Linked DNA regions of Homo sapiens: regions 2 and 3 are each linked to region 1. Evidence: promoter capture Hi-C in 16 types of primary human blood cells and fetal thymus (Javierre and others, 2016). All regions are on one chromosome and are shown on one strand. The core of a region is centred on a gene start or on the middle of the fragment in contact, and the rest is flanking DNA. Distances in the headings are between cores, read along the strand shown. Region 1 holds the start of ICAM2 (intercellular adhesion molecule 2). Region 2 overlaps PECAM1 (platelet and endothelial cell adhesion molecule 1). Region 3 has its middle 44 kb from the start of TEX2.

Evidence for each region. Contacts are between HindIII fragments. The CHiCAGO score rates a contact against its expected background, and 5 or more counts as called.
Region 2: a fragment that was not itself captured here is called in contact with the fragment with the promoter of ICAM2 in region 1 in 2 of 17 cell types (monocytes and M0 macrophages); the score reaches 6.5 in monocytes.
Region 3: a fragment that was not itself captured here is called in contact with the fragment with the promoter of ICAM2 in region 1 in 3 of 17 cell types (endothelial precursors, M0 macrophages and M2 macrophages); the score reaches 7.8 in endothelial precursors.

Annotation. Positions count from the first base shown.
Region 1 is chr17:64,018,901-64,022,616 of GRCh38, forward strand. ICAM2 (intercellular adhesion molecule 2) reads right to left here and starts at 1,733. Exons shown (of 5, transcript NM_001099789.2): 1 at 1,623-1,733. RefSeq lists enhancers at 1,353-1,472, 1,567-2,067, 1,813-1,902, 2,123-2,172. The HindIII fragment of the contact is 3,360 bases long and covers 1,051-3,716 here.
Region 2 is chr17:64,326,181-64,329,896 of GRCh38, forward strand. It overlaps PECAM1 (platelet and endothelial cell adhesion molecule 1), which reads right to left. Exons shown (of 16, transcript NM_000442.5): 15 at 3,520-3,542. Among named protein-coding and RNA genes, the nearest start is that of PECAM1, 63 kb to the right of the region's middle. RefSeq lists an enhancer at 228-307. The HindIII fragment of the contact is 1,557 bases long and covers 1,219-2,775 here.
Region 3 is chr17:64,305,822-64,309,537 of GRCh38, forward strand. It overlaps the pseudogene RPL31P57. Among named protein-coding and RNA genes, the nearest start is that of TEX2, 44 kb to the left of the region's middle. The HindIII fragment of the contact is 4,234 bases long and covers 1-3,680 here.

The sequences.
Region 1 (3,716 bases), core at 483-2,982:
TAGTAGAGATGGGGTTTCATCTTGTTGGCCAGGACCGTCTCTATCTCTTGACCTCATGATCCTCCTGCCTTGGCCTCCCAAAGTGCTGGGATTACAGGCATGAGCCACTGCTCCCGGCCTTACTTCTCACTATCTGTGTGACCTTGAGCAAATCACTTAATCTTTCTGTGCCTCAATTTCCTCATCTGCAAAAAGGAATCAATAATAGTATCTTCCTCATAGGGTTTTTGTGCAGATTAAACAAATAAAATAAGTAAATATTTTAAAGCATTTAGAACAGTGCCTAGCACACAGTAACGCTATATAACTGTTTCATAAAATAAAAATAAATAGGCATAGCCAGGTGCAGCAGTTCAAGACTGTAGTCCCAACTAATCAGGAGGCTGAGGTGGGAAGATCACTGGATCCCAGGAGTTCGAGGTTGTAGTGTGCTATGATCATGCCTGTGAATAGCCACTGCACTCCAGCCTGGGAAATATAGTGTGACCCCATCTCAGTAAATAAATAAATAAATAAATAAATAGAGATGCATATGTAATAAAGCACTTAAAAATAAGAGAACAATAAACACAAAATTCCAGAGGGTGGCTACCTGTGGGTGGGAGGCAAGTAGCATAAAAGTGGACAAGTGGTGGCCAGGTGTGGTGGCTCACGCCTGTAATCCCAGCATTTTGGGAGGCCGAGGTGGGCGGATCATGAGGTCAAGAGATCGAGACTCTCCTGGCCAACATAGTGAAACCCTGTCGCTACCAAAAACACAAAAATTAGCTGGGCATGGTGGCATGCGCACCTGTAGTCCCAGCTACTTGGGAGGCTGAGACAAGAGAATCGCTTGAACCCAGCAGGCGAAGGTTGTGGTGAGCCAAGATTGTGCCACTGCACTCCAGCCTGGGCGACAAGAATGAAAACTCTGTCTCAAAAAAAAAAAAAAAAAAAAAAAGCAGATAAGTGGTGTTTGCAGTTTGGTGATACTCCATCCTTGTGCTGAGTGGCAGCTTCAGGTGTGTTTGGTATATTACTGTGCAGTATGATGTATATGTATGTTACATAAGCTTTTTATGCGTTACCTAGTAAATTTTACAAAAATAATAAAAGGGAAAAAGGGCCTTTCTACGTGCCTAGAAAGAAGAGGCTTCATGGGAATGTGAGCCATGGGTTAGGAAAGACCCCCTCGAACCGAGGCAGGTAGGAAGTGAGTGACTGAGATTCATTATGAACCCACCACGCCTGCCGGGGAGAACAGGGACTGTCCCTTCCCCTCTGCATCAGCTCAGATGGTCCAGATCACAGCCCACGTGGGCCCCTAAATAAGGAGGCAGCCCCACATTTCTACATCGGCCACCGAGATGGCAGAGCAGAGGAAGGAGAGAGGGGAGACAAATCAGGAAAGGAGCGCCAGGGCAAGTGCGTGAGCTCAGAGACCCAGCAGGGCAGGGCAGGAGCTTCACAGAGTGCAGAATGTCGAGCCACAGGAGCGCTGGGGATTCCCCAACCCCTGCACTTACCAGCGAGAAACTGAGACCCAGAGAGGGGAACGGACTAAAACTCAGACCTCGACACTGCCAAAATCCTTCCCATGCTGCCACGCTTCATTGGAGGGAAAGTGAGAAGCTCAACCTTACCCCTGTGGGCTCCAAGAAGGGTAGCTCTGGGATCCCGGGCAGGAAATTGGTGACAAGGTGACAAGGTGCGCGTGTCACAGCTGCCCAGTTCACGGCTTATTCAGTCTTCTCCCTCCCCCCACTCCCCACCAGAAGTGACGTGCTTCCTGTGCCCCGGTTCCCACCCTAAACTAGCCTCATTTAGCTCCACTCCCATTCCGCTTTTTTTTTTTTTAATTGTGGTAAAACGTACACAACAGAATTTACCATTTCAATTTTTTTTTTTTTTTTAGACTGAGTCTCAGTCACCCAGGCTGGAGTGCAGTGGTGTGATCTCGGCTCACTGCAACCTCTGCCTCCCGAGTTCACGTGATTCTTGTGCCTCAGCCCGCAGAGTAACCGGGACCACAGGCACCTGCCACCACGCCTGGCTAATTTTTGTATTTTTAGTAGAGACAGGGTTTCACCATGTTGGCCAGGCTGGTCTCGAACTCCTGACCTCAAGTGAACTGCCTTCCTCGGCCTCCTAAAGTGCTAGGATTACAGGCAAGAGCCACTGCGTCCAGCCAATTTTTTGTTGTGTTGTTTTTAAGACAGAGTCTTGCTTTTGTCACCTAGGCTGGAGTGCAGTGGCACAATCACAGTTCGTGGCAACCTCTGACCCCTGAGCTCAAGTGACCCTCCCTCCTCAACTTCCCAAGTGACTGGGACTACAAGTGTGCAGCCACCAGGCTTGGCTAATTTCTGTAGTTTTTGTAGAGACAGAGTGTTGCTTATGTTGCCCAGCCTGGTCTCAAACTCTTGAGCTCAAGCAATCCTCCCACCTCAGCCTCCCAAATGCTGGGAATGAGCCACCGTGCTAGGCCCATTTTAATTATGTTTAAGTGTACAGTTTGGGGCACTAAGTACATTCACATTGTTCTGCAACCATCACCACCATCCATCTCTGGAGCTCTCTCTTTCTCTTTTCTTTCTTTTTTTTTTTTTGAGATGGAGTTTCGCTCTGTTGCCCAGGCTGGAGTGCAGTGGTGTGATCTTGGCTCACTGTAACCTCTGCCTCCCAGGTTCAAACGATTCTCTTGCCTCAGTGTTTTTGTTGTTGTTGTTGTTGTTTGTTTGTTTGTTTGTTTTGTAGAGATGGAGCCTCACTCTGTCGCCCAGGCTGGAGTGCTGGAGTGCAGTGGTGTGATCTCGGCTCACTGCAACCTCCGCCTCCCGAGTTCAAGCAATTCTCCTGCCTCAGCCTCCTGAGTAGCTGGGACTACAGGTGCACGCCACCACGCCTGGTTAATTTCTTTTGTATTTTAGCAGAGATGGGGTTTCACCATGTTGCCTAGGCTGGTCTCAAACTCTTGAGCTCAGGCAATCCGCCCGCCTTGGCCTCCCAAAGTGTTGGGATTACAGGCATGAGCCACCGTGCCTGGCCTTGCCTCAGCCTCTTGAGTAGCTGGGATTACAGGCACGTGCCGACTGGCTAATTTTTGTATTTTTAGTAGAGATGGGGTTTCATCATGTCGGCCAGGCTGGTCTCGAACTCCTGACCTCAAATGATCCGCCCACCTCAGCCTCCCAAAGTGCTGGTATTACAGGCATGAACCACCACGCTTGGCCAGAACTGCCTTCCTTTTGAAGGCTGAGCAATATCCTATTGTGCGTGTGTGCCGCATTCTGTTCATGCATTCATATACTGATGGACACCTGTGTTGCTTCCACCTTTGGCTATTGTGAATAGTGCTGCTACAAACAGGGTTGTACAAATACCTGCTCAAGACTCTGCTTTCAGTTCTCTGGGGTATGTACCCAGAAGTGGAAATGCTGGATCATAATGGTAAAATATACACAACAAAATCTACCATCTTAACCTTTTTTCTTTTTTTTTTTTAGTGGTAATTCTGACTGGGCTTGGTGGCTCACACTTGTAAATCCGGCACTTTGGGAGGCTGAGGTGGGAGGATTGCTTGAGTCTAGGACTTCAAGACCAGCCTGGGTGACAAAGTGAGACCCCATCGCTACAAAAAAAAAAAAAAGTAATTTTGTTTAATTTTTGAAGATTTGCCATCCTGTTTTCCTTACTCCTCCCTTTGATGTGCAGTTTCTGTACTCACTGGGGCCTTC
Region 2 (3,716 bases), core at 747-3,246, 310 kb after region 1:
CCTGAAGAGCAGGCAGCACCTAAGTCCACTATTCTGGACCCTCCATGTGCACAGGACACTCTGCTGCAGGTGGAACTCAGCAAGGCAGAAGCTGGAGATGGAGGATGACCCAGGGTCTTGGGACCTCCACAGCCAGCCTGGCTGGCTTCCTGAGGGTGAGCTGGGATAGTGTCTCCATTTTGTTTCAGCCCTGCTGGGTCCAAGGACCCTTGGGGAACAGGATGCAGGGCCGAGGTGCCCCAACTAGAAAGCCAAGGCTCTGGCCCCTCCTCTGCCAGGAGAGCCCCATGCAAGTGGGCCAAGCAAGCCGTGCTGGCCCCAGAGGCTGGAGGCCTGCCAGCGCCGGCAGCCACCCTGCCCTATTTCCTCTGCTCTGCCTGGATGGGGGAGACATGACTCTGGTGTCCAGCCTTTCTGTGGGCCCCAGACCAAGTCCCTCCCCAGACACCTCCGCTCTCTCTCTGTGGGGGCAGCCAATGCCTGGGGCACCATTGCAGAACCAAAGCCACAGACAGGAAGGGCTGGGCCACAATCAACAGGGCCTTAGGGATTTTGAAGTAAAGGTTAACACGCTCACATCCAAGGTCTGGGCTTGCTGTGCTTAAATCAGAAGCCAGCCATCAGCCACCCAAGTGCAGTTGTGAAATCGCCCTGCCTTGTACCCGGAATATGGTGTGGTCTCCCTCAAAGGTCATTTTGATTTCAACACACCCTGGGATCTCTAGTTCCTGCTTCTACAAAGTGCTCCTGTGGGCACTTGCAATAGACCAGGTCTATGCCAGGTGCTCATTCAACCCTTGCAACAACCAAGTGAGGGAGTTTATGATTCCCAGTTTACAGATTAGGAAGTAGAGGTCTTGAGAGGCCAAGAAATTTGCCCATGGTGACATGGCTAAGAAGTGGGAAGTCAAGTGTTAATGTGGGTCTCTGATTCCTAAGTCAAAGCCTGGCCTTGGTTGAATCCTATGCCTTGGGTAAGCAACTGCTACATTCTCCATATGTGGCAGGGTCATTTCATGGCCAAATCAAGTTAAGTCCCCCATCCACACCTACTATTGCCCAAGTGATGAAAAGAGCTTGAGATCAACCAGCTTTTATATGGTGGTTTGCAGCTTGCAGCTTTTATATGGTGGTTGCAGTTGCTCATTTCATCCTTAAAATCCTAATAGGTTGCTCTTATCATCATTGTCATCACCATCTCCACTTTATAGATAAGGAAGCTTGAGCTTGAGGAAGACAGGCTCACCCAAAAGACAGCTGGAAAGCTGGAGCTCCCCTCCCATCCCCTGATCCTAGCACCTGGACAGTTTCCACTGTAGCCCAGCTGCCTCCTGGCCTCCAGGAAGGGGGGAGGCGAGCTATAGCTGCCAATTGCCTTTCTTTCTGTAAGAAGGCAGGGTCCTTTCCAAGATCCCAAGACTCTCACAAGTCCAGATTCACCCCTTTCATTTAAGTACAGGGTGTTCTCTTCCATGCTATCTGTCTGCGTCGGCCACACACACAATTTATAAACAAGGTAAAAATGGCAGAGGAAAAATGAAGTCAGAATGTGCCATTGAAGCAAGTCAAACAATACCAAATTAGTCTTTGGCTACGTGGCTATCTCATTGTTAAGATATTTCCTCCAATGTTTTCAGAGGCAACGGCCATTAAACAACTGGGAATGATCGCCAGGTTTGATTTCAGGAAGGAAATCTCCTCCCATTTCCCCACTGGGCAATTCAATTAATTTTCTCCTGACCCACACCAGCTGATTATTAGGGAAGCTATACCTGCTTCTTTTATAAACAAAACCCATTTGCTTAAAGGTTCAAAATTCCTTTCCCAACGGCTGGAAACCCTGTGCTCCCATCAAATGACTCTATTCTTTTTTCTGGGGGGACAGGACCAGTCATGGGTGAGCTCTCAGAACCATCCTGGGAGCAGACTTTGAGGCCCAAGGGCCAGCTTCTGGGTAAAGTTCTGTCTGGCCTGGAGCTCCAAGCCTTTGTCCAGAGACACCCTTTGGATCCAAGACAAAGTAAATAAGTTGGTCCTACAGGGTGTTTTGGGTGGACCCAGCCATGTTTATCGCTTCAGGAGAACACATCTGTGTCCCGCACTGCCCAGGGAGCAAAGACCTCATTTTCCACTCTCTCAAAGCCATTATTGCTGGGACAGCAACTTCACATCTTGGAGGGAGTCTCTGTCGTGACAGAGGACTGGCCGCAGAGTATAGAGGCCTGGGCTCTGTTCCTCACTCTATTAGCCATCCAGGTGACCCCAGACACGCTATTCTACCAGTGCAGGCCTCAGTTTCCTCATCTGTAAATTGGGCTCCTTGTCCCAGTGACACGATAGTCTCTGATTTCAGGAGTCTGAGTGGGTTTTGGCTAGGAAAAAAAACAACCATTCATTTCATTCCTCTTTTCCTTAAATTCATAGCTTTCTTCCATAAAAAGAATGTCAGTGGCTTCCTGTCTGTCAAAGGCATAATGAGCTCTGTTTTACAAGAGTCCAGACATGGGCAAAACAAAGGAAGCCAGGGGCCCACTGGAAGAGCTACCAGAAATCTTGCTGAAAGTTCTTCCCAGACCTAAAAGAAGTTTATGCGGCAAATGCCTCATTTCTTCAGATATTAGCTGCCCAGTTAACTCCTGCATTGCTGGGTAGCTCACAAAAAGGTTGGGATTGGAAGACACGTCTTTGCAAAAGTTGAACGTGGGCCTCTGTGTCTTTCATAAACCCTCCCATCTGCCAAATAGCAGATTCCTAACTCCATTTCCTACAGAATGAAGCTTCTTAACAAGGCATGTAAATCCTTTGGATTTAAGCCCTGACTTATCTTTCTCCCGTCACTTGTCACTGTCACACTCTTCTTTTCCCATCCCACACTGCTTGAAACTGGTCATCCCTCACCCTTGTGCTCCTGCTGATCTTTCTCCCTCAATGCTGCCATCACTCCATTCATTCTTCATGGCCCATTCCAAATGATTCCTTGGGGAAGAGGCCACTAGCTAGGTCTCTGTTCTGTGTTCCCATAGGCTCTGGCATAGCTCACTTTGCTTTATGATAAGTGATCACATGTCTGATTCCCTCATCAGAAGGTGAACTGAGGTCAAGAAGCTTGGGTGTCTCCTGCAGCTGATGGCCTGGTGTGTAGGGGGTAATTAGAATCGGCTAAATTGCAATGAGCTGTCAGCTGCTCCACTCCTCCAAGCATACACCCTAGATCTGCCTCACTTCCAGAGCCTAGACTTTGGCGTTAAACGAAATGTGTGCTTTGCTTGTTTGGCGCTAAGCACCCCAGAGTCCCAATCCCTTCACGTGTGGGCTGAGATGTAATGATGGAAATTGCAGGAGAGAATATTCGAAATCAGAACTGGCCAAGGCTAGTCAGAGAAGCCCAGGGCTTCTGGTCTGAAACAGACTAGGGAGCGGGGAAGAATTCATGTGAATGCAGGACGTGGGTGAGTCTGGAAATATTTCACTGTTCAGTGGAGTACTTTTAAATATAATGTATATGAAATGTGTACTTACAGAGTATCTGCTTTCCACGGCATCTACAAAACAAAGGATGACATGGCAGTGAGCAACGCAAATAACCCAGTTCAACTGCCCCAACAACATCACAGGGTCAGGAGCAGGTCGAGAAAAGAGGGAGGAGGCGAGAGCCAGGAGACATCAGCCGGCAGGTGCCCTTAGAGGTTTATGGCTCCTTTGTGCAAGACAGCTTC
Region 3 (3,716 bases), core at 314-2,813, 290 kb after region 1:
GCCTGACCAACACGGTGAAACCCCGTCTCTACTAAAAATACAAATTTAGCCAGGCATGGTGGTGCGCGCCTGTAATCCCAGCTACTCGGGAGGCTGAGGCAGGAGAATTGCTTGAACCCAGGAGGCGGACGTTGCAGTGAGCCGAGAACACACCACTGCACTCCAGCCTGGGCAACAGAGTGAGACTTCCTCTCAAAAAAAAAAATTATTTCAATGTTTGCTAAATATTTTGAAAGTTAGTTGCAGGCATCATATTTCTAATATTACTTCACCATGTATCCCCTAAGAATGAGGACATTCTATATAATTACAGTATATTACCATGCTTGAGAAATTTAACATTAGGCTAAGCACAGTGGCTCATGCCTGTAATCCCAGCACTATGGGAGGCTGAGGCAGGTGGATCACTTGAACCCAGGAGTTTGAGACCAGCCTGGGCAATATGGCGAAATTTTGTCTGTACAAAACTTACAAAAAATTAGCCAGACATGGTGACGCACACCTGTGGTCCCAGCTACTCGGAGGCTGAGGTGGAAAGATTGCTTGAGCCCAGGAGGTTGAGGCTGCGGTGAGCCACCATCATGCCACTGCACTCCAGCCTGGATGACAGAGCAAGACACTGTTTCAAAAAAAAAGAAAGAAAGAAATTTAACATTAATACTATATTGTGATATATATTCCATATTCAATTTTCCCAATTGGCCCAATTATGTACTTGACTAGCTTTTTTTTTTTTTTTTTTTTTGAGATGGAGTCTCGCTCTGTTGCCCAGGCTAGAGTGCAGTGGCACGATCTTGGCTCACTGCAATCTCTGCCTCCTGGGTTCAAGCAATTCTCCTGCCTTAGTCTCCCGAGTAGCTGGGATTACAGGCGCCTGTCACCATGCCTGGCTAATTTTTGTATTTTTAATAGAGACAGGGTTTCACCATGTTGGTCAGACTGGTCTCAAACTCCTGACCTCAGGTGATCCACCCACCTTGGCCTCCCAAAGTGCTGGGATTACAGACATGAGCCACCGTGCCTGCCCTTGAATAGCTTTTTGAACAGATTGCATTTAGCGGTTCAGACCCTTTGGTCTCTTTTAATCTAGAGCAGTTTTTCAGACCATTTTGATCTTTTCTGACATGGATATTTTTGAAAAGTCCAAGCCAATTGTGTTAAAACTATAATTACTTTATGCTATTTGAATTCTACACGTGATCTTGGTCCTAGAGTGTAAATTTTATCTGTGCTGCCACCAGGTGGCGCACTTGGTAGGTCCTGGTCCTCAAAAACCCTTGTGAAAGGGCAACTTAAGGCAAGAAAACTCGTTTTGTCTCAATCAACTAAGGCTGTTATTTGGTAAAGCATATGATGTTGGCAGTGCCCATATATTTATAAAGGCACGTGGTGTCTTTTCCATAATCTGGGGATCTTGCTAATTAGGATTATAGTTTCGTAGACCTGTAATGGGTCCCAAGATTCTTTCTTTTTTTTTTTTTTTGAGACAGGGTCTCACTCTGCCAGCCAGGCTGGAGTGCTGTGGCGTGATCACGGCTGACTGCAGCCTCAAACTCCTGCGCTCAAGCGATCCTCCCACCTCAGCCTCCCAAAGTGCTGGTATTACAGGCATGAGCCGTTGTCCTGGCCAAGGTTCTGCATTTCTAACAATGGCCAAGTGATTGTGATGCTGCTGATTTGAAGAGCACGCTTTGAGTAGCAGGGGTTTAGAACAAGCCTATGAAGAACTATAATCTATTTACAATTAGTGGCTTCTGTTCTTGAGACAAAATCTCACTCTGTTGCCCAGGCTGGAGTGCAGTGGAGCCATCACGGCTCACTGCAGCCTTGACCCCTGAGGCTCAGGTGATCCCCCTGCTTCAGCCTCCTGAGTAGCTGGGATCACAAGCATGCACCACTCCACCTGGCTAATTTAAAACATTTTTTTGGAGACAGGATCTCTGTATGTTCCCCAGGCTGGTCTCGAACTCCTGGGCTCAAGGGATCCTCCCATCTTGCCCTCCCAAAGCGCCTTGACCTCCCAAAGTGCTGGGATTACAGGCATGAGCCATCATGCCTGGCCACTATTATATATATATATATATATATATATATATATATATATATATATATATATATATATATTTAAACAATTTTGGCCCCCACAGTGGCTCATGCCTCTAATCCCAGCGCTTTAGGAGGTCAAGGCGGACAGATCACTTGAGGTCAGGAGTTTGAGGCCAGCCTGGCCAACGTGCTGAAACCCCATCTGTACTAAAGATACCAAAATTAGCTGGGCATGGTGGTGCATGCCTGCAGTCCCAGCTACAAGGGAGGCTGAGGTAGGAGAATTGCTTGAACCCGGGAGGTGGGGGTTGCAGTGAGCCAAAATCACGCCACTGTGGTCCAGCCTGGGTGACAGAGCAAGATTCTATCCCACCCCCCCAAAAAACAAACAAACAAACAAACAAAAAACAATTTTATAACTTTATTTGGTATATTTGATGATTAGCAGTTAGTTCACATTCACACCGACTGTAGATTTTTTTAAAGTGGTAACAGGTACGTAGGCAACCGAAGTATAGAGCTTGTTTGGTAAATCTTTATCTTCATTACATTTTCTGGACAACCGAACATGGATACAGTATGAGACGTTGCTTATTCCTTTGGCCCAGACAGCTTTGTTGAGCCTGGTATCAAAGTGTGCATCTGGAGTTCCCATCTCCTTCAGGGCAAGTTTCCGGAGCTCTTTGAGTGCCTGAGGGGAACGCTTCTTGAAGCCCACTCCATGAATGCACTTATGAATGTTGATGGGGTATTCTCGGGTCACCATCTCGTTGATGGCGGAATGACCCTTCTTCTTCTCATCACCCTTCTTTGCAGGAGCCATTCTGCCGGGCCCAAGTTGGAAAGGAAATTGGCCACTATTCTTACATCATAATCAGTAGTAAAGCTAGTCTCATCTTCCACTACTTCCCCTCTTCCTCCCTCTACTCCAGCCCCTTGGCCTTGCTTCTTTCCCAGAGGGCCTCGACCCTAGCTTTCCCTTCTGCCTCGCATGCCATTCCCCCAGATATCCTTCTGCTTGACTAATTTCCTTGTCTCCTGCAAGTTCTTAGCTCAAACCTTTCTTTTTTGTTTGTGTTTTGTTTTTGAAACAGGGTCTTGCTCTGTCACCCAGGCTGGCATACAATGGCGTGATCATGGCTCACTATAGCCTCAACCTCCTGGGCTCAATTGATCCTCCCAAGTCTCCATAGTAGCTGGGACTACAGGCATGCATCACCATGCCCAGCTAATTTTTGTATTTTTTGTGGAGACGGGGTTTTGCCATGTTGCCCAGGCTGGTTTCAAACTCCTGAGCTGAAGTGATCCACCCACCTTGGCCTGTCAAAGTGAAAATTCACTTTCTTGATGAGGCTCACCCAGACATCCTTATTAAACACTGCTGCCTCCCCCACCCCCTCACACCCTCCCTTAACTTGCTTGATTCTTTGTTTCCTCCAGCCTTCTCCACCTTCTCACATATCATATAATCTACCTCCTGCGTTTATTGTTCATTTCTGTCTCCCCCTGCTAGAATCTAACTTCCATGAGGGAAGGGATCTTTGTCTGTCTATTGTCTTCACTGATATTTTCTGAGCACTTAGAACAGTGTCTGCACATAGTAGGTGCATATGAAATATTTGCTGAATGAATGAAGCTTAAAAGGACCTTCAAGATAACAGAGTCCAATC